Linked DNA regions of Homo sapiens: regions 1, 2 and 4 are each linked to region 3. The links are contacts of gene promoters, found by promoter capture Hi-C in human tissues and cell types (Jung and others, 2019). All regions are on one chromosome and are shown on one strand. Each heading gives the region's core, a stretch centred on a gene start or on the middle of the fragment in contact. The rest is flanking DNA. Distances are from core to core; before and after follow the strand shown.

The links. Contacts are between HindIII fragments. The study calls those that stand out against the background at their distance.
Region 1: a fragment that was not itself captured here is called in contact with the fragment with the promoter of SMOC2 in region 3 in 2 of the 25 tissues and cell types used here (pancreas and stomach).
Region 2: a fragment that was not itself captured here is called in contact with the fragment with the promoter of SMOC2 in region 3 in 2 of the 25 tissues and cell types used here (bladder and stomach).
Region 4: a fragment that was not itself captured here is called in contact with the fragment with the promoter of SMOC2 in region 3 in 5 of the 25 tissues and cell types used here (H1 embryonic stem cells, aorta, bladder and 2 more).

Annotation. Positions count from the first base shown.
Region 1 is chr6:168,490,507-168,495,657 of GRCh38, reverse strand. All of the region lies in intron 1 of SMOC2 (SPARC related modular calcium binding 2), which reads right to left. Among named protein-coding and RNA genes, the nearest start is that of SMOC2, 52 kb to the right of the region's middle. The HindIII fragment of the contact is 4,906 bases long and covers 1-4,442 here.
Region 2 is chr6:168,401,019-168,405,915 of GRCh38, reverse strand. No RefSeq gene overlaps it. Among named protein-coding and RNA genes, the nearest start is that of SMOC2, 38 kb to the left of the region's middle. The HindIII fragment of the contact is 5,480 bases long and covers 893-4,897 here.
Region 3 is chr6:168,437,355-168,442,487 of GRCh38, reverse strand. It overlaps SMOC2 (SPARC related modular calcium binding 2), which reads right to left and starts at 1,304. Exons shown (of 13, transcript NM_001166412.2): 1 at 1,034-1,304. The coding sequence starts at 1,117. The HindIII fragment of the contact is 15,076 bases long and covers 1-5,133 here.
Region 4 is chr6:168,381,866-168,386,892 of GRCh38, reverse strand. No RefSeq gene overlaps it. Among named protein-coding and RNA genes, the nearest start is that of SMOC2, 57 kb to the left of the region's middle. RefSeq lists enhancers at 2,853-3,352, 3,353-3,854. The HindIII fragment of the contact is 4,135 bases long and covers 1-3,659 here.

The DNA.
Region 1 (5,151 bases), core at 740-3,239, 52 kb before region 3:
GGCCTGAGGTGTTTGCGAAGCGCTGCTCCCCAGGAGGAGTCACCTGGGCTTTCTTTAAAGTTTCACCAAACGCTTCCCGGGCATTGCGAACTTCAGGGCTGCCACCACAGCAAACACACACTCATTTATCGTTCGGGAGGTGCTCACAGCATCCCACATCTACGATCTGTACTTTATAGAAAAATTAAATGTGACAAAGAGATAGAATTAAAAACTCAGGTTCCCAAGGAAAATGTTGGAGCTCTGGAAGCGACCCCAGCGGTGGGCACCGGGAGCCGCGGACAAGGTCACCCTGGCTGGCGTCAGCCAGTGGCTGAGAGAGGAAGTGAAGAAGATCCACCTGCCACGGTGGGCTTTCCACAGGGCCTCAGTTAGAGGGGGGTGGACCCGCAGAGGGACCTACACCTGGGCCACAAGGAGCCTTTCCCTTGGCCGGAGGTCCCTCCTTTGTGACTCACTCAGAGCAAGACAAAGCCTGGTCTGCAGGAGCCCACATAGGGCGCAGGAGCATGGCTTTCCTGGAACCACTCTGAGCCAGGAGGTGTCTGTGTCCTGAGCCCACCCTGTTTTGCTCTTACCTTAGACCCTCTGAGAAGGGTCATGGTGTGAGCAGGTTCCCTGCGGGTTTCAGGAAGGTGCCAGAGGCGGGGCCTGGAGGATGCAGGCATGAGGGAAGGGGCAAGGCCGAGCGAGGTGAGCACACCCCGGCCCAAGGGAGGTTCCCTATTCCCCAGGAACTGCAGGCAGAGGGAGGCCTCAGCCAGGATGGTCCATCCCAGCCCTCCCAGGCCCAGTGCACTTAGACAAGGCTGTGATTCCATCCCAGCAGCTGGGAGCGAAGTGGTGCCCGCCCTTCCCAGCCACCTCCCTTGCCCTTCAGCTGCTGGGATGGGGCTGCTCCAGCCGAGGGTTCACTCTCACTCCCAGCCCTTTGGGAAAGAATCGCAAAACCCCAGTATGAGGAGAGGTGCATTTCTCCATTCACGTCTCCTCCAAGTCTTAGGCTTACCAGGAAATCAGTGGCACTCTAAGCAGCGTAAGTCAAAGGGCACTGCCCACTCATTTTCAACGTGCTTAGGAAGTGATCCCCTATCTTGTTGGCTGTGAAAATGCATAGAAGAAAATGTTTGCTGTGTGTGTTCATTTATCCAAAAAGATTCTGATGGGCACTTTAGCCCTAGTAAAGTGTTTCGGCTAAAGCCAAGAAGAAGTCTATCTAGGTGTTAAATTCAGAAAAAGAGGAGAAGGAAGAAGAGAGGCAAAGTATTCACTCTTTTCATGTATTTACTGGTTGGGTGCGCATTAGGTGCGTGTCTGCTGAAACCTAAGGAGACCAGCTTATCACATGCCTGCCCTACCACTGAACTACCTGAGCCCAGACCAAAACTTTGCCATGTCCTAAAGAACGCTTGCACTCACAGTGTGTAGAAGGAAAGCTGCTCTTAGCTTTGCCATGTCATGAAGAATGCTTGCACTCAGAGCGTGTAGAAGGAAAACTGCTCTTAGTAACATCTGGAATAACCATCTAATACACTTGCCAAGATTCAGACCAATATGCCTGGAATAATGTCAAACCAAGAAAACAATGAGGTTTATGATGGAAACAGAGAAAAGACTTCAGGATCGTTCCAATGGCATCGGAATGATCCCACACTCATAATATTTTAAGGTTACCAAATGCACTTATGAAAGGTGGCTACCACATAGAATCTAATTTTGTTTTTTGAAGAACAACTCCTCTGGAAGTTATTCTTGGCAGACACTGAATAGCAAGAACCAATTAAAATAGAAAAGATAAAGACAGTTAAAAACTAATATGTCTGATGAAATAAATATTCAGATGAAATTTATTTTCTTGGCTGTCATTTAACTAAGAAAAGAAAAACTAGGACTTATACACTTTTTTGAAAAATAAAATCATGTCCGCAATGTCAACTTGTTTGTCAAAAGCTAATTTTAACTACCTAGGATTTAATATCCCTAAAATGTTGATATTAATATATCAAATTAATATAATTTTAAGTTGCAATACTATTAGACAGCCAGATCTTATCACAGTGGTTTCCATTCTGAAGATATCTTGGCCTTTGTACTTTGAACATCATTTTCTGAACAGTAACAGTTTTCCTTCGCTTCTGGAAACTTGTCACTTACTTTGCCATCCATACATCATTCACAAAACATTTGCCTTCATCATCATGCAAAGCTACAGAAGATCTTGTACAAAGTAAGATTATGAAGGGAAAGGAATTAAGTTTTTAACAAATCCATACTTATGCAGATAAATGTTCAAGTCAGTTCTTTAACTAAATCACTTTTGAGGCCAGGTGTGGTGGCTCACACCTGTAATCCCAGCACTTTGGGAGGCCGAGGCAGGTGGATCTCCTGAGATCAGGAGTTCGAGACCAGCCTGACCAATATGGTGGAACCTCGTCTCTACTAAAAGTACAAAAATTAGGCAGGCGTAGTGGCGTGTACCTGTAGTCCCAGCTACTCAGGATACTAAGACAGGAGAATTGCCTGAACCCAGGAGGCAGAGGATGCAGTGAGCTGAGATCCTGCCACTGCACTCCAGCATGGATGACAGAGTAAGACTCTGTCTCAAAAAAAAAAAATCACTTTTGAGCATATCTAAACATTCCAACAATTTAGTCTTCATTCAAATTTGTGAACTCTTCCTTTGAAGCTACCTTCACAATGTATGGAGAGCTCAAGGAAAGTCAGCCTTACGACGTCATGCAGTGATGCTGAAACAGATTCCATTCGATCCTAACAAACCTACAACACAAGGAAGAGAAGGCACATTTCTGTACTCTATAGATGGCAATATTAAAGCCAGAGAAATGCAATGTCTTGCTCAGAGTGACAAATTATTTTGTGGTGGTGGGAGAGCGTCAGGACAGGTATGTGCCTCTGGTCACCATCCACATTTTGTCCTGTGAGACAGTGCTCTCTCTAAAATGTCATCAACCTCGTAGGTCACGTCATCTTGAGACTGAAAGAAAAGTTGATTTAGAGAAACCTACCTCACACTGCAATACTTTTTATTTAATCATGTGGTAATAACTATGAAATTCGTAACAGATGCTTGTGTGTATATTTTCTGCCACACTTTTTCACCCTTATCACTGGACTGAGTTGTTGGTTTTGAGTGACACCTGTAAGAGTGACTTTGTGAAGTTGAGATTGGTCAGATTTGATCAACCCATTGTTGTGCGAATTTGCCCCTTGGCCTAGGGCTAGCAGGCTGAGAGGTGGTAGAGCTTCCTTTATGTTTGCATAGTTCTTGCTTTGAAAATAGAAGGTGAACTGAAAACTATGGAAAGGTAGGTGGGTGTCTTGTGGATTAAAAATGAGCATCATGCATGTGTGTGTGTGCCTCGTATCTTGGAGAGGATGGGGCCAGCCAACGGTATTCTCATGTGCTTGGCAAATTGAAACTTCCATTTTAAATACAACTGACTTTTCTCATTTAGATAGGTAAGTCCTATATTTTTCCTTTCAAGAGAAATATTCCCTTCAGATACAACCTGTAATTTCTCTTCCATGAATAAAAAATTGGGGAGACATTATTTTGTTTAATTAAGTGCATTAGTAATGCCAGATGCAGACCAGTAAGACTGAGCCATGTTCAAAGAAATTCAGAATTAGGAGACTTCCTTCTAAAGTGAGAAAATGAAATGTATCAAAAAGAAGAATGCGGGAGAATGTGTGGGTGGCTCGAAAATGGTTAAAAATAATATTTCGATGTAGTTAGCGATACCTGCACTTATTCCAGAGAGAAGTTAAGATGATGAACAGCACAGTTCACTCTCCATGGGGTTTATCATTTCTGCAGTTAAGGTTCCCGCTTAATTTTAACTTATAATACGGCCAACAAGCAATCTCTTTAAAAATAACAAAATAAAATCACAATTAAGTCAACTCAATGGCTCTTCTGTATCTGTGTCTGACAAGAGTAGACACATTCCCACAGCTCATGCAGATACTTTAAATAGAGTATCAAATTAATGTTTTGGTTTAAATTTTTATTAAATAGTTTATTGTTATTATCAATAATGTTTTTGATCTTTACATACGCACAGGAAGCTCTGGCTGACTGGTGGGAGTTGCCCAGGAGGATCTTACAGCTGAATTGATCCCAAATACTTATTTTAAAAGATGCTCCATGGGTGACATCATCATGAGACCAAGCAGTCTTCACCTTCCAGCCGCCAGAAACTTCTCAGACTGCCATGAGGTCTTGGAGACCTCCTTTCCTAATTCTTCTCTTGACTCTCATCCCATGATTCGGATGTTATGGAAACTAACATCTTTGCATTATCTTAGCATCCAAAATTTCACCTGTGAGAGTTAACTTGTGATTTTAATAAAAATAAAGTTAATGTCCGTTCAGCATCATCTGTCTCTTGCATCCTCATAGTTCAAATTCTCCAGCTTCCACAAGACCAAGATCAAAAACACGGCATTACTCAGGAGCATGGAAGCAAGGCTGGCGTGAGCAGCATGTGCAATGATTTGCATGAGATGATGCAGAAATATTTCCTGCCATCAGGAATGACCTCTCCAGAGTCCTACAGGGTCACCTTTTAATGAGAGAGACCAGCCGCCCCCGCTGCCCCCTTGCACAAGATGATGCAGAAATATTTCCTGCCATCAGGAATGACCTCTCCAGAGTCCTACGGGGTCACCTTTTAATGAGTGAGACCAGCCGCCCCCGCTGCCCCCAGCTGCCCTGCCGTGTCTCAAGTCATGCATGGGCACACCTGGGCAGCAACAGAGGGCTCACCTCCACCTGCTGCCCCACTCAGTGCTGAGCGGGAATCCAAATCCCAAATGCAGCCTCAGCCCAGACTCAGCCACAGTAAGCGTGTGGTCAGAATGGAGGGATTTGAAGACAGGAGATGTCCCAATAGATGTCAAGGTTGTTCCAAGGAGCCCTGAGCCCTGGCATCATGGCAGGTGCACTGACCTGCTGTCTCTAAACACCCAAGGTGTCCACATGACATTTTAAAAATCTCAATTCTACCCCTCAATCCACTGATAAACCTAGGGGCTTGCAAGGAGCAATTTCTAAGATCCTATCAAGGCTAAATCCTGAAATCTCACTTGGCACACCACTTTGCTTCCGAGTTGCCACTGTGAACTTGA
Region 2 (4,897 bases), core at 2,383-4,882, 39 kb after region 3:
ACTCAACAATGCCATAGGTCTGCTTCAGTCAGACAGTTCTGGTTGCTCGTTTGACTCTGCTATTCATCACACCAACTCTGCCCACCATGCCTCTAGCAGTAGGGTCCTCCCCTTGTCTCCTGCCACCCTGGGATCCAATTACTCCTATTGCATTCAGGTTTTCTAGTGGAGTGGCTGCAGTTTCCACTGTGAGGTCTGGTGTGTAGAGAAGAGATCACAGAAGTGATCATCAGAAGGGATCGTCCTTCAAAAATTCCCCTCACTAACTTATTTCTCAAAGTATTGGTGAAAGGAAAAAAGCAAGTCAGAAGCAACACCACATCCCTGAAGGGATTGCAGAGATTAGTGCCACCATCAAAGGCCTGAAGCATGCAGGCATGGTGATTCCCACCGCACCTCCATTCAACTCTTCTGTTTGGCTTGTGCAGAGACAGACTCTTGGAAAATGATGGTGGATTCTTATAAACTTAACCAGGTAGTGGCTACAGTTGCATCTGCTATACCAGATATGATTTCTCTGTTTAAGCAAACTAACACATTCCCTGGTAGCTGGCATGCAGCTACTGATCTACCAAGAGCCTCTTTCTCCACCTCTGTTCATAGGCAGTCTGCTTTTGGCTGGTAAGACCAGCAGTGACCTTCACTGTCCCACTGAAGGGGTCTGTCCCCTCTCCTGCCCTGTGTCATGGTTTGTTTCCAGGGATCTTGGTCGTCTTTTTCTTCCACATGTTACACTGGCCCATTACATTGACATTGTGCTGGTGGTACCTAGTGAGCCAGAAGTAGCAACCGCCTTACAGTTATTGGTGAGACATTTATGTTTCAATGGTGGAAAATAAATCTGACAAAAATTCAGGGGCCCTCTAAGTCAGTGAGATTTCTAGGGGTCCAGTGGTGTGGGGCCTGTCAAGAGAGCCCTTGTAAGGTGGAGAAAGGCTTGTTGCATCTGGCCCCTCTTACATCCAAGAAAGAGGCACCATGCTTAGCAGGCCTACTTGGATTTTGAAGGCAACACATTCCTTCCTTGAGTGTGCTGTTCCAGCCCATTTACTGAGTGACCTAGAAAACTGCTGGTTTTGAGTGGAGCCCAGAGCAGGAGAAGGCACTGCAACAGGTGCAGCCTGCTGTGTCCGCTGCTCTGCCACTTGGGCCACTTGCTGGAGCAGAGCCAGCAGTGCTTGAGGTGTCAGTGGCAGACAGGGATGCCCTGAGGAGCCTTGGACAGGGCCCTATAGGTGAATCTTAGTGCAGGGCCTTAGGATTTTAGAGCAAAGACTTGTCATCCTCTGTGAATAATTATTCCCCTTTGGAGTACCAGCTCTTGGCCTGCTAGTTGGCCCTAGCAGACTGAATGCTAAGCTATTATTTTTCTTTTTTGAGATGAAGTCTTACTTTGTTGCCCAGGCTGGAATGCAGTGACACGATCTCAGCTCACTGGAACCTCCGCCTCCCGGGTTCAAACAAGTCTCCTGCCTCAGCCTTTTGAGTAACTGGGATTACAGGTGCGTGCCACCACATCTGGCTAATTTTTGTATTTCTAGTAGAGATGGGGTTTTGCCATGTTGACCAGGCTGGTCTCGAACTCCTGACCTCAAGTGATTCATGTGCCTTGGCCTCCCAAAGTGCTGGGATTACAGGCATGAGCCACTGCCCCCGGCCTGAATGCTAAGCTGTTGACCCACCATGTTGCTATGTGATCTGAGCTGCCCTTCATGAACTGGAGGGATTGCAGAGATTAGTGCCACCATCGAAGGCTTGGAGGCAAGGGTAGCAATTCCCACCACATCTCCATTCAACTCTTCTGTTTGGCTTGTGCAGAAGACAGGCTCTTGGAAAATGACAGTGGATTATTATAAGCTTATGATACCTTTTGTTGTGAAGTGAGTCCCTTGATAAGAAGCAATGCTGCATGAATACCATGATGGCAGATAAGGCATTCTGTAAAGACATGGGTGATAGTTTTGGCAGAAACATTGCATTCGGGGACAGAAAATTCATATCTAGAGTATCTGACCCGCCAAGCCGTAAAGTTGAGCATGCACAGTGACACTCCATCCTCAAATGGAAGGGGGCGTGCATGGGATCGGGCACCAGTAGGTCCTGAGGGCACAAGTAAGTTATATAAAGAAGTGGTGCAAATGCCCACAGTCTCCACCCCTGCTCCCCTGCCTTCTGTCTCAGCCTGCACCTGTGTCCCCACTGAGAGTTCCCTGTGATCATTTGACAGAGAAAGCAAGGCTAGAGCCTGGCTTCCAGATGGTTCTGCACTACACAGAGGCATCACCCACAAGTCGACAGCAGCACTGCAGCCCCTTTCGGGGACGTCCCTGAAGCACATGGTGAAGGGAAACCTGCCTGGTCAGCAGAACTCCAGGCAGTGCATCTGGTTGTGCACTTTGCCTAGAAGGAGAAATTCTAGATGTATGCTTACATATCCGTGTATGGGCTGTAGCCAATGGTGTGGCTGGATGGTCAGGAACTTGGAAGGAACATGATTAGAAAATTGGGAACAAGAGAATTTAGGGGAAAGATATGTGCATAAACCTCTCTTAGTGGGCAAAAAAATAACCATGAAGACATTTGCATCACATGTGAACACTCACCAAAGGGTGACCTCAGCAGAGTAGGAGTTTAGTAATCAAGTGGCTAGGATGACCGTCGTGTGGATACCACTCAGCCTCTTTCCCCAGTCCCCACTGTCATTATTTATTGGGCTCAGGAACCAAGTGGCCTTGATGGCAGGGATGGAGGATATGCATGGGCTCAGTGACACGGACTTTTGCTCACTGCAACAGCCATTGCGTGGCCAATCTGCTAGCAGCAGAGAGCAACACTGAGCCCCCAATGTGGCACCACTCCCAGGGTGATCAGTCAGCTACTTGGGGTGGGATTACATTGGATCGATTCCATCATGGAAGGGGCAGTATTTTGTCTTTATTTGAATAGATACTCTAGGTTTGCATCTTCCTTCCCTGAATGCAACACTTCTGCCAAACCTACCATCCATGAGCTTACAGAATACAGCATTGCTTCTGATCAAGGAACTCACTTCACAACAAAAGAAGTATAACGATGGGCCCATGCTCCTGGAATTCAGGGTCTTACTGTGTTCTCTACCATCCTGAGGCAGCTGGCTTGATGGAACCACGGAATGGCTTTAGAAGATGCAGTTACAGCATCAGCTAGGTGGCAGTACCCTGTGGGCTGGGGCAGGGTTCTCCAGAAGGCTGTGTGTGTTCTGAATCTGTGTCCAATAATGGCACCCTTTCTCCTAGAGCCATAATCATGCTCCAGGAATCAAGAGGTGGAAATAGGAGTGGCACTCCCTATCACCCCTAGTGACCCATTGACAACATTTTTGCTTCCAACTTTATGCTCTGCTAACCTAGAGGTCCTAGTTACAAAGAATACAAAGAAAGGCATGTTTCCACCAGGAGACACAGCACTAATCCCACTGGACTGGAAGTTAAGACAAAGAATGCAAAGAAAGGCATGCTTCCACCGGCAGACACAGCACTGATTCCATTGAACTGGAAGTTAAGACCAATGCTCTGCAACTTCGGGCTCCTTCTGCTTCTGAATCCATATGCAAAGAAGAGAGTCCCTGTGCAGCTGGGGTGATGGATCCTGGCTTCTAAGAAGAAATTGGCCTATACTACTCCACAGTGGAGGTAAGCAAGAGTGTGTCTGGAATACAGGAGATTTCTGAGGCTGTATCTTAGTATTACCCTGCCCTGTGATTAAGGTCAGTGGAAAACTCAACCTAATCCAGGTAGGACTACAAATGGCCCAGAACCTTCAAGAATGAAGATAGTCTATAGGTAAAGAACCATGAGCAGCTGAGGTGCTTGCTAACAGCAAAGGGAACACAGAGTGGGTAGTAGAAGAAAGTCATTGTAAATACCAGCTATAACCATGGGATCAGTTACCAGTGACGTGTTGTAAATACCAGCTATGACCATGGGACCAGTTACAGGAAAAAGGGCTGTACTCCTCATGAGGATTTTATCCTTATTTTGTTATGAGTGTGAGTGTGTGTGTATGTGAATGTGTGTGAGAGTGTGTTTGAGAGTGTGTGTGTGGTGTGTGTGTATGAATGGCCCAGTCAAGTAGATGCATAAAATTATCCACAAGTCCAACTCTTGTCAACTTGGCACCCATACACATCTCCTGAAATCATACTTAATCTCAAAATAAAGACAATAATAAGGTCATAATTTTTCCTTATGACCTTAATAAGATTAATTTATATATATGTGTATATATATATGTTTTCTCTTCTCTCATTACCTTATGTAACAGATGATGAATTGACTTTATATCATAGTATTAAGTATTGTTCATTTTACATTATACTATTTAAATCATGGGATATCAAATAGAAGCAAAAACATCATCCAAGGACTTTGCTTTCTTTTGCGGGAAGGAGCTAGTGCATTTTTGGTTGTACTCAGGACAGTTATATCATGATAGGCAGAATTATGACCTTATGATTATCTTCATTTTGAGATTAAGTATGCTTTGAGGAGATGTGTACGGGTGCCACGTTGACAAGAAGTGGATTGTTGTGGCTAATTTTACATTAACTTGACTGGGCCATGGGGTGCCCAGACATTTCATTGAGTGTTATTTCCAGATGTGTCTCTGAGGGTGTTTTGGATGAGATGAACATTTGAATGGTGGACTGAACTCACCGATTGCCCTCCCCAATGTGAGTGGGCCTCACTCAAGCAGTTGGTAGTCTGAACATAACAAAAAAGCCAAAGAATAGGGACCTCCTCCTGCCTCTCTGTGGAGCTGGGACAGTGGTCTTTTCCTGCCCTTGGTCTGAAATGGAAACACCAGCTCTACTGGGGCCTCAAGCCTGCTACCTTCAGACTGGAACTGAAGCCTGGGA
Region 3 (5,133 bases), core at 55-2,554:
CATTAATGATGGGTTTGCAAACCCTGCAAGCCCAGGAGGACGGCTGGAGCTGGGGGCTGCAGACACCCGGCCTTGGCCCAGCGGCCGCCGCGGGTTGGCTTGGCCGGCGGGGGCTTGGCTCAGCCCCCTCTACATAGCTCCTCGTTTGACACCGCGTGCGTTGGCCGGGCCAAGGCTGTCGCATAGAAGTTACAGCTCAGAAAGAAAAACACACAGCGGTCAACCGCGGTGACCCTCGCGCTCAGGAGCGCAGCATCCCTGCCACGAGGAAGAACCCAGAGGCCCCGCAGAGCGGGGAGCCGCCGCCTGCCTCCAGTTCTGTCCTGAGAAGGGAAGAAAGCGCTTCTCTAATAACACTCAGGCCCGTGAAGAATCATCTGTAACCTCATCTGCTTCTTCCTCGGCTCACTTACGAGGGTCTCTGGGAGAGTCAGACCCACGAGTGGGGCCCACGACTGGCAGCCCCTTCAGCCGGCGAGAGGCCCGGGATCCGCGCGGCGCACGAGCCCAAAGCGGTCGGGAGAACACGCTCCAGGCCGGGTCCCCGTGGGCGAGGTGGGCGCCCAGTCCCGGCGGGTCTGTCTTGGCCTTGGGACAGTCCGCGGGGCGGCGCCGGCGCTCCCAGACCTGGTTCCCCACAGGCTCAGGCCCAGCAGTGAGTGCGGGACACCCGAGCGCACCCGCAGCTCCCACTTGTCCGGGGTCTGCAGGACCCCAGGATCCTCTCACAGCCGGGTCAGAGCCCCCGAGGCAGGTGGGGTCCCAGCCGGGTGGAACCCGAGGAGCCCGTCGCAGCCGCAGCAGGACCCCGGCGGGCAGGGTCCCCAGAAGCCCATCCCAGCCGGGTCCCAGGCGCGCACGCTGCGTCCTACCTGCTCCAGCCTCGCCGGCAGGCGAAGGCTCCACGGCCCCCGGGGCCACCTGCTCCCCGTGCCCAGGCGCCTGGGCCTGGAGCGGGGCGCGGGGACCCGAACCCGGCCGGCTGCAAGAGGCGGCACCACTTGAGCTCCAGGTCCCGCGGGCCCGGGCTTACCGTGAGCGCCGAGAACTTCTGAGCGGGCACCGGCGGGAGCAGCCCAGCGAGCAGCGGCAGCCAGCAGAGCTGGGGGAGCAGCATGGTGGCGGAGGTGGCGGGAGCGGGAGATCGGCCGCGTCCTGCGCCCTGGCACTGCAGCCGGGAGAGCCCAGTGGGCGAGCGCGGCTGGGCGGGCGCGTGGAGGGGCGGCTCCGCGATGCTCTCCCCACCGCTCCCGGCGGCCCGGCTGGAGCAGCTCCCCTGCAGGCACCCAGAGGTCCTCCGCGTTCTTTGCGTCCGCCCTCGCTCCTGTCAAATACCCCGGAGCTTCCCGGATCCTCCCCTCCCGCCCGCCTCTCTCCCTCCCCCTCTCCTCCCCCAGCCCCACCTCCCAGCGCCCGCTGCCGCGCCCGCTCCGCTCCGGTGCCCGCTGCGGCCCAGAGGCCTCCCTGGCGCGGGTCTGCGGAGCGAGAGGTGGAGCGGGGGCCACCAGGGCTGCGCAGTGGCCTGTCCGGGCTGTCTCTGTGCCTCCTTCCCCGCGCGCACTCTCACACACACACGTGCACACTTACACACACGCACACCCAGGCACACGCACGCACTCATACCCACGCGCGCGCACCCTCGGGGGGCTTCCAAGCACAACCACGGGACGCACCGCGCCCTCCTCACGCCCCAGGGTCCAGGCCCGGTCCGCGCAGGATCAGCCCAGCGGGACTTTTCATCCACAAAGGTTAACGCCAAGCCTTGGCCGGTCCCCAGACTCCGGGGTTCTCCTTGACCTCTGCCCTCTAAGGCCCCCTGGTCCAGCCCAGAACATTGCCTCTCAGAGGTGCTGAAGGATCAGCGGCGCTCCAGCAAAGGCAGCTGGGAACACATGTCCAGGAAAGGCTGCGCCGGGGGCAGCCCGCCTTTGGCATCTTTACACGGGGTTATCCACTGCAGGGATGGGGGAATTTAGGTCCTAAAGATCCGGGGTCTGACCTGGGCTGTAGCCTTGATCCTCTCAAGTCGGGGGAGCATGTGGTTGGGCATCATTCACAGACACATGTGGCTGTTTTTAAACAGCTCTGTCAAAGCATTTCAGGTGTTTGTGCGGGGAGCACAGGGCTTGTGGAGGTTGTAAACTCACCCACGAAGACTACGTTGGAAACCAGGAAATTTTTGCACACCCAGACTCTGGATAATATCCACTGCAGACAACATTGCTGACATAGTTTAGCCTTGGCTTATAACTTTACAGGAAAAAGCCCTAATTCTGTCTCACACAGAAAGCCAGAAGAGTGAAGATTTGTTCAAGAACAATGAATCAATTGACTTGTCAGGGGCATTGGGAAAAGCACAAAACACAGAAAATCCAAATCTGAGGTTTCATCCGATGTCTAGCCCACTGCTTTGGCTATGAACTTTGGGGGAGGGGGCTGTATCAGCAAGTTCTGGGACTGGCTGCTGAGGCAAAGGCAATGCTATTGCAACCTTTCCCACACAATTTTATCAGGAAAGTGATGTCCGTCGGGCCACGGAAAGACGGGAAAGAAATGCACCTTTTCCTGAAGGAGGGCTACTCTCAGAATTCTCCTTAAAATTCCAAAGCCCAGGGAATCTATTAAGCACTTAAACACATTCCTCCTGGTTTAAGGACTTAGAAGGAAATTATAATAAAACTCTTGAGGGACTGCTCCTGGGTCCAGAAAAACAGGTGAGCAGAGCAGCTGCAAATGATTAAGTAAATAGGAATCACTGTTAGGGAACTGCAGTGAAAATTAAAGTAAAAAGAAAATAAACACTACATACCACTAATTCTAAGATTATCCAAAGAATAAAATTTACACTCGAAGCTGACATACTTCCTTTAAGAAGTATTTGCTACTAAAGAACCTGTTTTTCACTTTCCACTTTGTTGAGAGTACTGCTCGTCAGAACTCAAAAGTTTGAAAGCATGTTCATTTATCCACCATCGTCCGCTGCAAGAATGGCAGACAAGAAGCAGACTTAATTATTCCCATTCTACAGATGAGGAACAAAAGTCAAAGGGGCCAAATGTCTTAGCCAGATCTCCTAAGCAACAAAATCATAAACAGAATGCAGATGTTAAAACCTGCAATACTGGCAAATCCATGTCACTTCCTCTGGCAATATGGAGAACAGAAGAAAATCCTTGGCCCTCCGTGCCTTGTATTCAAGAATCCCAACACGTCTTTCATGTAGCAACTCCAGAATCCTCTGGGAACTCTAGGAAGATAAATGAAATGCATTTGTCCAAAACTCTGACAGATGAGGCAGGTTTGGAGCCTTTGAAACCCCTTTCAAATCTGGAGGAGCTCATGTGTCCTGAATGCCAAATTTTAGTTTCTCAAAATTCTAGAAATGGAGTTTGGAGAGATAATCAGGTTCCATTTTTATGGAGAAAAACAATACATTTATTTAAAACACTGGGAAAGAGTTATGTCTGTCTTTTATTTGTAAGTCTCCAAGAAAGTTATTACTGGCAGGAATGCCAGAGAGCTGTCATGTTAGAAAGGATAGAAAAGTAATTCACTCAGTTCAAAGTTAAGACAGGAAGTGATCAGCTCTATACTTTCCAGAGAGTTCCTCTAGGATGCAGGAAGAAGTTCCCCTCTCTTGGAAATGTAGGTTTTTTTGTTTTTTTTTTTAATTAAAAAGTGATGCAGGGCCCATTCTAAAATGTGGCTTATGCATTCAGAATTTAAATGCCTGTCACTGATGAAAGTTACAATAAAGAACAGCAAGAGAAACTAATTACCAAAGACTCCAGCTGTTTTCACATTTCTAAACTAACTTTCCCTCTTAGGCCATTAGCAAAATGCTTTATCATGAGTATTGGCTTCCTTTTTATTTATTTTACTATGCTAAAACTGCAAAAGGATTTTATTTTCATTATAGAAATGATATAATTTAGTTATTATTTCTGGCTAATTCATGTTTAGCCAGAAAACTTTTTGTCAGCTATTTTCCCATCTCAATATGCCAAGCATAAGTTTAGTCAAATATCTCTTTGTTGATGCAGTGACTTCCAGAAATCCCCTCTGCCATCACTCTGAGTATCATCTGGGACTGAACTCAGGTCACTGTTCATACTCTGAGAATCACCCCACATCATCAGTCACCTGCCAGTCACTTATTAATGTTTTCTCCTAGTTTCTACTTAATCATGGGAGCAGGAGTTTTCACCGTTCACCTGGACTTTCTTAGGTAAGTTCTGTGTGATTTTCCTTTTAGACTACCCCCAGGCTGGACCCGAGAATCTGTAGTTCCCCAGGTTTCTGGAGTCTCTGTCCTCTTGTTGGCTTGTTCATTCTGATGACTTGCATCTTCCTTTTAACTTGTTCCCTTCAACCTACGGAAAAATGATGCAGGATCCCCACATCAATCCCAGGTTTTTAGCCCAAGTTCTGCAGCTTCACAAACCTGTGAGCCATATAGAAAGGAAACCACATCGGCAGAGTTGACAAAATCAGAACAGAGCACCGCCGAGGCTCACCGTCACCGCGGCTGCAGGATGAGGCCAGCGTTGACACACCACGTTGAAAAGTGGACAGTGGAGTTGTGTGTTTGATCCTTGGGCCTGACTCAATGGCTTTCTTCCTATTTTGATATATTTAAGTAACAGAGAATTTGGACTTTGTGCTCAACAAAATAATTAAACAAGTTTCTTCTTTTTTTTTTTTTTTTTTGAGATGGAGTCTTGCTCTGTTGCCCAGGCTGGAGTGCAGTGGTGCAATCTCGGCTCACTGCAAGCTCTCCCTCCCGGGTTCACACCATTCTCCTGCCTCAGCCTCCCGAGTAGCTGGGACTACAGGCGCCCACCACCACGCCCAGCTAATTTTTTGTATTTTTAGTAGAGACGGGGTTTCACTGTGTTAGCCAGGATGGTCTCCATCTCCTGACCTCGTGATCCGCCCACCTCGGCCTCCCAAAGTGCTGAGATTACAGGCGTGAGCCACCGCGCCCGGCCTCTTCTTCCTTCTTAAGATGCCTGAGGACAATTTTTATGATAATACTTTTCAGGCACTTTGTGGCAAATTTTTAAAAAATAATTTCAGCTTTTATTTTAGACTCGGGGGCACACGTGCAGGTTTGTGACATGGACATATTGT
Region 4 (5,027 bases), core at 343-2,842, 56 kb after region 3:
CCCCTTGGGTCACAGAAATGCTGGTGAACAGTGGTGGAGAGGGGGCTCCACCCCTCATGTCCCCTTTGCTGCTGTTTGCCTTAATTATGTGTTTGCATCCACAAAACTACTTTTGGATTCTGTGACTCAAAGAAATGCAAAATTAAAAAATAAATCTGCAAAAGTCCACCTGGTTTTCAATCAAACCTGTCTTTCCTTCCACCCTCACCCCTCCTAAAAGAGAAAGGAAAGCTGTTGGGTGAAGTGTGGCTCCCAGTCAGGGACAGGGATCAGCCCAGGTGTGCGGCAAGCCCAGCCAGATGGCTGGAAGCGCTGCCAGGCTGTGGTAGGGACTCACAGGAAGGTGGTGCCCTCAGCCAGCCTCCAAGGGTGTCTCACCAAGGGTTAGGGATCTTCCAGCATCCCCAGGCCAAATGTTAGCAGAAGGTCCCACAACCTCCAGTGCAGTGCCAGGTCTTTTTTATAACCTGAAAGCAAGAATTCAGCTTGTTTCTGCAAGAACGGCTGTAACAGCCCAGCAGCCTCCATGGGACACGTGGGACACACATGCAATGCTGTCCACATTCACATGTGTGTACAAAGCACCATGTTCTCTCACACACTTCAGACCAGGAGGAATGGGTGACTGACAGTTTCCAGTTTAAGGGGCCTGGGGCTATTTGTCCCTGTTGACTTCCAGCTGGGAGGAAAAACTGGCACAAGGAGTGTGTGAGACAAGCCCCACACCTGAGCAGGCACACCTGGGTGGGCACACCTGTGCGGGCACATGCACTGCAGCCCACCTCGGCCAAGGCCTCCAGCTACCAGCAGCTTGGCAGGCAGCTCCCATGGCTTTGCAAGACCTGCAGCTGCAAAGCCAGAGCCAGACCCACCGGCAGACACAGAGGTGCCCTGCTTGCTGGGAGGATGCATCCGAATTATTTCTGTGTGCCAATCCCCAAAGGTCCCTGTCTCTCAGAATGTGAGCAAGACCATGGTCTGGCTTCCCACGGGTGGAGCAGAAGGCTTTCCACATGGTCCTGCCAGGGGCACAGATACTCCATCCCCTTCCCAGATGAAAATGCAGACCTCCTTGGTTTGGCATCAGAGCAAAGGCAGAACTGGCACTTGGGCGATCCACGAACCACGCAGGCCTCTGCTCCTGCCCTTTCTTGTGCATCAGAATTCGGGACAGGACAACTTCACGATATTACATGTGCGCTGGGACACTCAGTTGCTATGTCCACAGGCAAATTCAGTGAGGTTCCTAAATATTCCCCAAGGTGTTGATTCACAGCCGGCCACCTTTCCAAAATTGTTTTCATAGCTCTTCCGCCCACTTTCGTTTGAGATGGAATTATGCCCAGATTCAGCGGGGGCAGCTCCACCAGCCACTTAGCTTTGTTTCCCTCCTCAATGCTTTCAAAGGACGTGTGCAGTCTCCGTAAAGCAGCAAAAAGATTATATTGGGCCTCTCGAAAGAAGGAAAATTTGAAAAAAAATTATCTTCATATGGGTATGTTTATTTCAGATTCAATATATAAACTGATCTTAGTTGCTTCAAATAGACAGCGTCTCATCAAAGCACGTAATAAACATTATTAACCCTGCCTGGCTTTGTGCGCCCGGGAAGAAGCCCCAGGGAGGAAGGAGGGGGCCAAGTCAGGACCGGCCCTGTCCCACCCACACACGAGTGCCGAGGGGGACTTCATGGACCCTCGCCTGAGGCCTCTGTGACTTGAGTATTTCAGGCTGTTTTTCACATAACTTTGGTTTGATTAAAACCCCAAATGCATTTGGCCAACCACATTTCTCTTTAACTTTTTAGCATATATTTATTTTCAGGGAAATGTCAGCCATGCATTTCTGATTCACTCTTTGTTGCCTCCAAGTTGGCCGGTGGTTGGGGGGGCGGGTTCTCGCGGGTGCCTGGGGCTGCCCCAGGAGTCCGTGAGGACAGCGGCAAGCGCGCCCCAAACTCTTGTCTCCTCACATTCCAGAAATGGGCCCCGGAGACCAGATGGATGGTGATGGCACAGAGAGAGCCTGTGCGTGTGCGGGGCGAGGACGTGTTTTAACTCTGAGCAGCGCTGGATTTGTGGTGATGTTGTAACTCCTAACCCATGATTTATGAGTGGTTTTTGACTTAGAAAAGCATGTTCTCTCTGCCCGGACTAACAGAATGCTCAAGCCTGGCGGAGGCACCCCGGAAGGCTCACGCACCCGGCCCCTCTGTCCGGACACCCCCATAGGCCTGACTCCCCTGTGGCCCCGTTTCCCCAGCTCACCAGGTAAGGGCTGTTCACAAAGAAGAAGAAAAATGGCAGAACTTTCATTAATGACGTTCACGTTAGGAGAACTTGCCCTTCACCACACACCCACTGAAACAACAGGGCTTCCTCCTGAGGAAAATGGGAAGCGCCGGGGGGAGTCTCAGGTCCTGGTAGTTGACGGCAAGCTTCAGATCCAGGAGAGATGAGTCTCATTTCCATTTAAAAAATAATTCACTCTTAAAAGCAGGGCACTGCTCAAGACTATATAAAGCTCACACTCTACATTCTTGAACGTACTTCAATAATTGTAAATGTGGGAATGCACAGTCAGTAACTGGGAAACTAAAATGTGAGATTCCAACACATTTACTCAGTGTTGCTGTTGAATTCTCCATGTGTCACGTGGCCTTTGCCGGGAGAAGCCGGCCTTCTGCCCAGGCAGTTTAGGGACAGACTTACTCTTCACTTTTATGTAGAAACCAACAGAGCCCCTTTCAGCTTCCACCAGGTCCTTAGGACAGATGATTCCTCCCCTTACACACAGGTAGTGAAAAAGCAATTCCACCCAGAAAAAAACTACTAACCGAGAATGATCAAATTCCTATCAAGCTTCAGCAGATTCAACACCAGAAGTTGGTCAAAGGAAACTCAAGTCTTTGCCTAAGTATTTCCATAGAAGTTCCATTGTTGACCAAGAGAAGACACGGGCTTCTCACTGAACTTTCCTTTAATGGGTTCCAAATTCTGTAATAGATTTTGACCAAGTTGATTCAATGAAAATGTGCTGACTTTAAAAACTAGTAACTTAAAACTGCCACGCATGCACACACACGCACGCACACACACGCACACACGCACGCACACACATGCATGCACACACACGCACACACACGCATGCACACACACGCACACATGCACGCATGCACACACGCACACACATGCATGCAAACACGCACACACACGCACGCACACACACGCAAACATGCACGCGTGCACACACACGCACACACATGCACACAGACGCACGCACACACACATGCATGCACACACATGCATGCACACACATGCAAACATGCACACATGCACACACACGCATGCAAACACACACATGCACACACACGCATGCAAACACGCACGCATGCACACGCACGCACACATGCATACACAAACACGCATACATGCACACACGCATGCACACATACACATATGCAAACACATGCACATGCATGCACGTGCACACACGCACGCACATGCGCACACACGTGCACACACGCATGCAAATATGCATGCATGCACACTCACGCACACATGTATGCATGCACACACGCACACACATGCAAATACGCATGCACACACATGCACACACATGCAGGCATGCAGACACATGCACGTGCACACATGCACACACACATGCAAACGCACATACATGCACACACGCACATGCACATACAAACACATGCACACACGCACGCACACATGCACACGCACATGCACACACGCAAATATACACACATGCAAATATGCATGGATGCACACACTCACGCACACACGCACACACACACATGCACACACACACAAATGGTCCACACTTTCTCCTTCCTTCTGAAGGCCCGTGCAAAATGTCTCCTCAGCACCAATATTGCAGTGTCTAAACCCCATCTGCTGGGTCACCTCTTGTCCTGGAAGCTGACCAAATATTTGATCAGATCACGGAGAAGTCCGCCCCATGTTCTCCCTGGGTACCGAGGCTCAGTACCCTGTGACCACAGCTGGGTGGGGGTGGGGGCTGTCCATAAAATACACCACTGATGGTGGCCTTCCAGGGGTACTGAGGCTTACGGCCCTGTGTCCACAGCTGGATGGGGGTGGAGAGTGTCCATAAAATACGCCACTGATGGTGGCCTTCCAGTGGTGTTTTCAGAAGCAAAGCTAACTCATTGTAGGTTGAGTTCCTGAAGAACTTGCTGCCATCAGCTGACCTGGGCAGCCCTGGCTTTGAATCCCAGCACAGGACTCTGTGACATTAAACAAGGGAGTTAGCCTCTGTGAAATCCTGTCTCCATGTCTGTAAAATTAGGACATTAATGCCGGCTCACCAGGATTTTAAATTTTAAATTACGTGGAATAAGCAGCGAGTGCATGACAGAATTCTTAGGCTCTCACACGTGCCCAGCACAAAGTAATTCCTGCCTCTTTCCCCTAAAGCTTTCACCTCCCAGACTTCACGGTCCTGGTTCTACCTAATTTGCCACAGCCCTTTAGTTTGAGTAACAGCTGCGTAGGGCACTTCTGAAGGTTTGGAGAACCCTTGGCGACGTTACCCAGCAAAGCACCGGGCGTTATGAACAACACAGGCAAGCGTATGCAGCTGGGGGCGTCAGACAGAAAGCAGCAGGCGGGGGGCTCACCTGCAAGCGCATGCAGCCAGGGGCATCAGACAGAAAGTGGCAGGCAGGGGGGTCGGGAGCATTTCAAATGGACCTATGTCACAATTGCGTCTCAATCCAACCCTGCACCAGCCATCATTTTTGGTTTCTCTCCAGATTAAAAATAATAAGCAGGAAAAATTAAAGACCTATGACCATCCTGGGCAGAAAACCTGTCTATGTGTCCACAGGCCACAGGGCCGCTCTGGGCGGTCACCGGCTGAAAGCCCATGAGGCTCCGAACGGAAAGTTTTGGCACCAGCTCATGCTGTCATTCACGCACTCTCGTGGAGTCCAGCAGCCCTGCCGGCGGTGGGTGGTGGATGGGTGTCTGGTGGAAACGTGACCA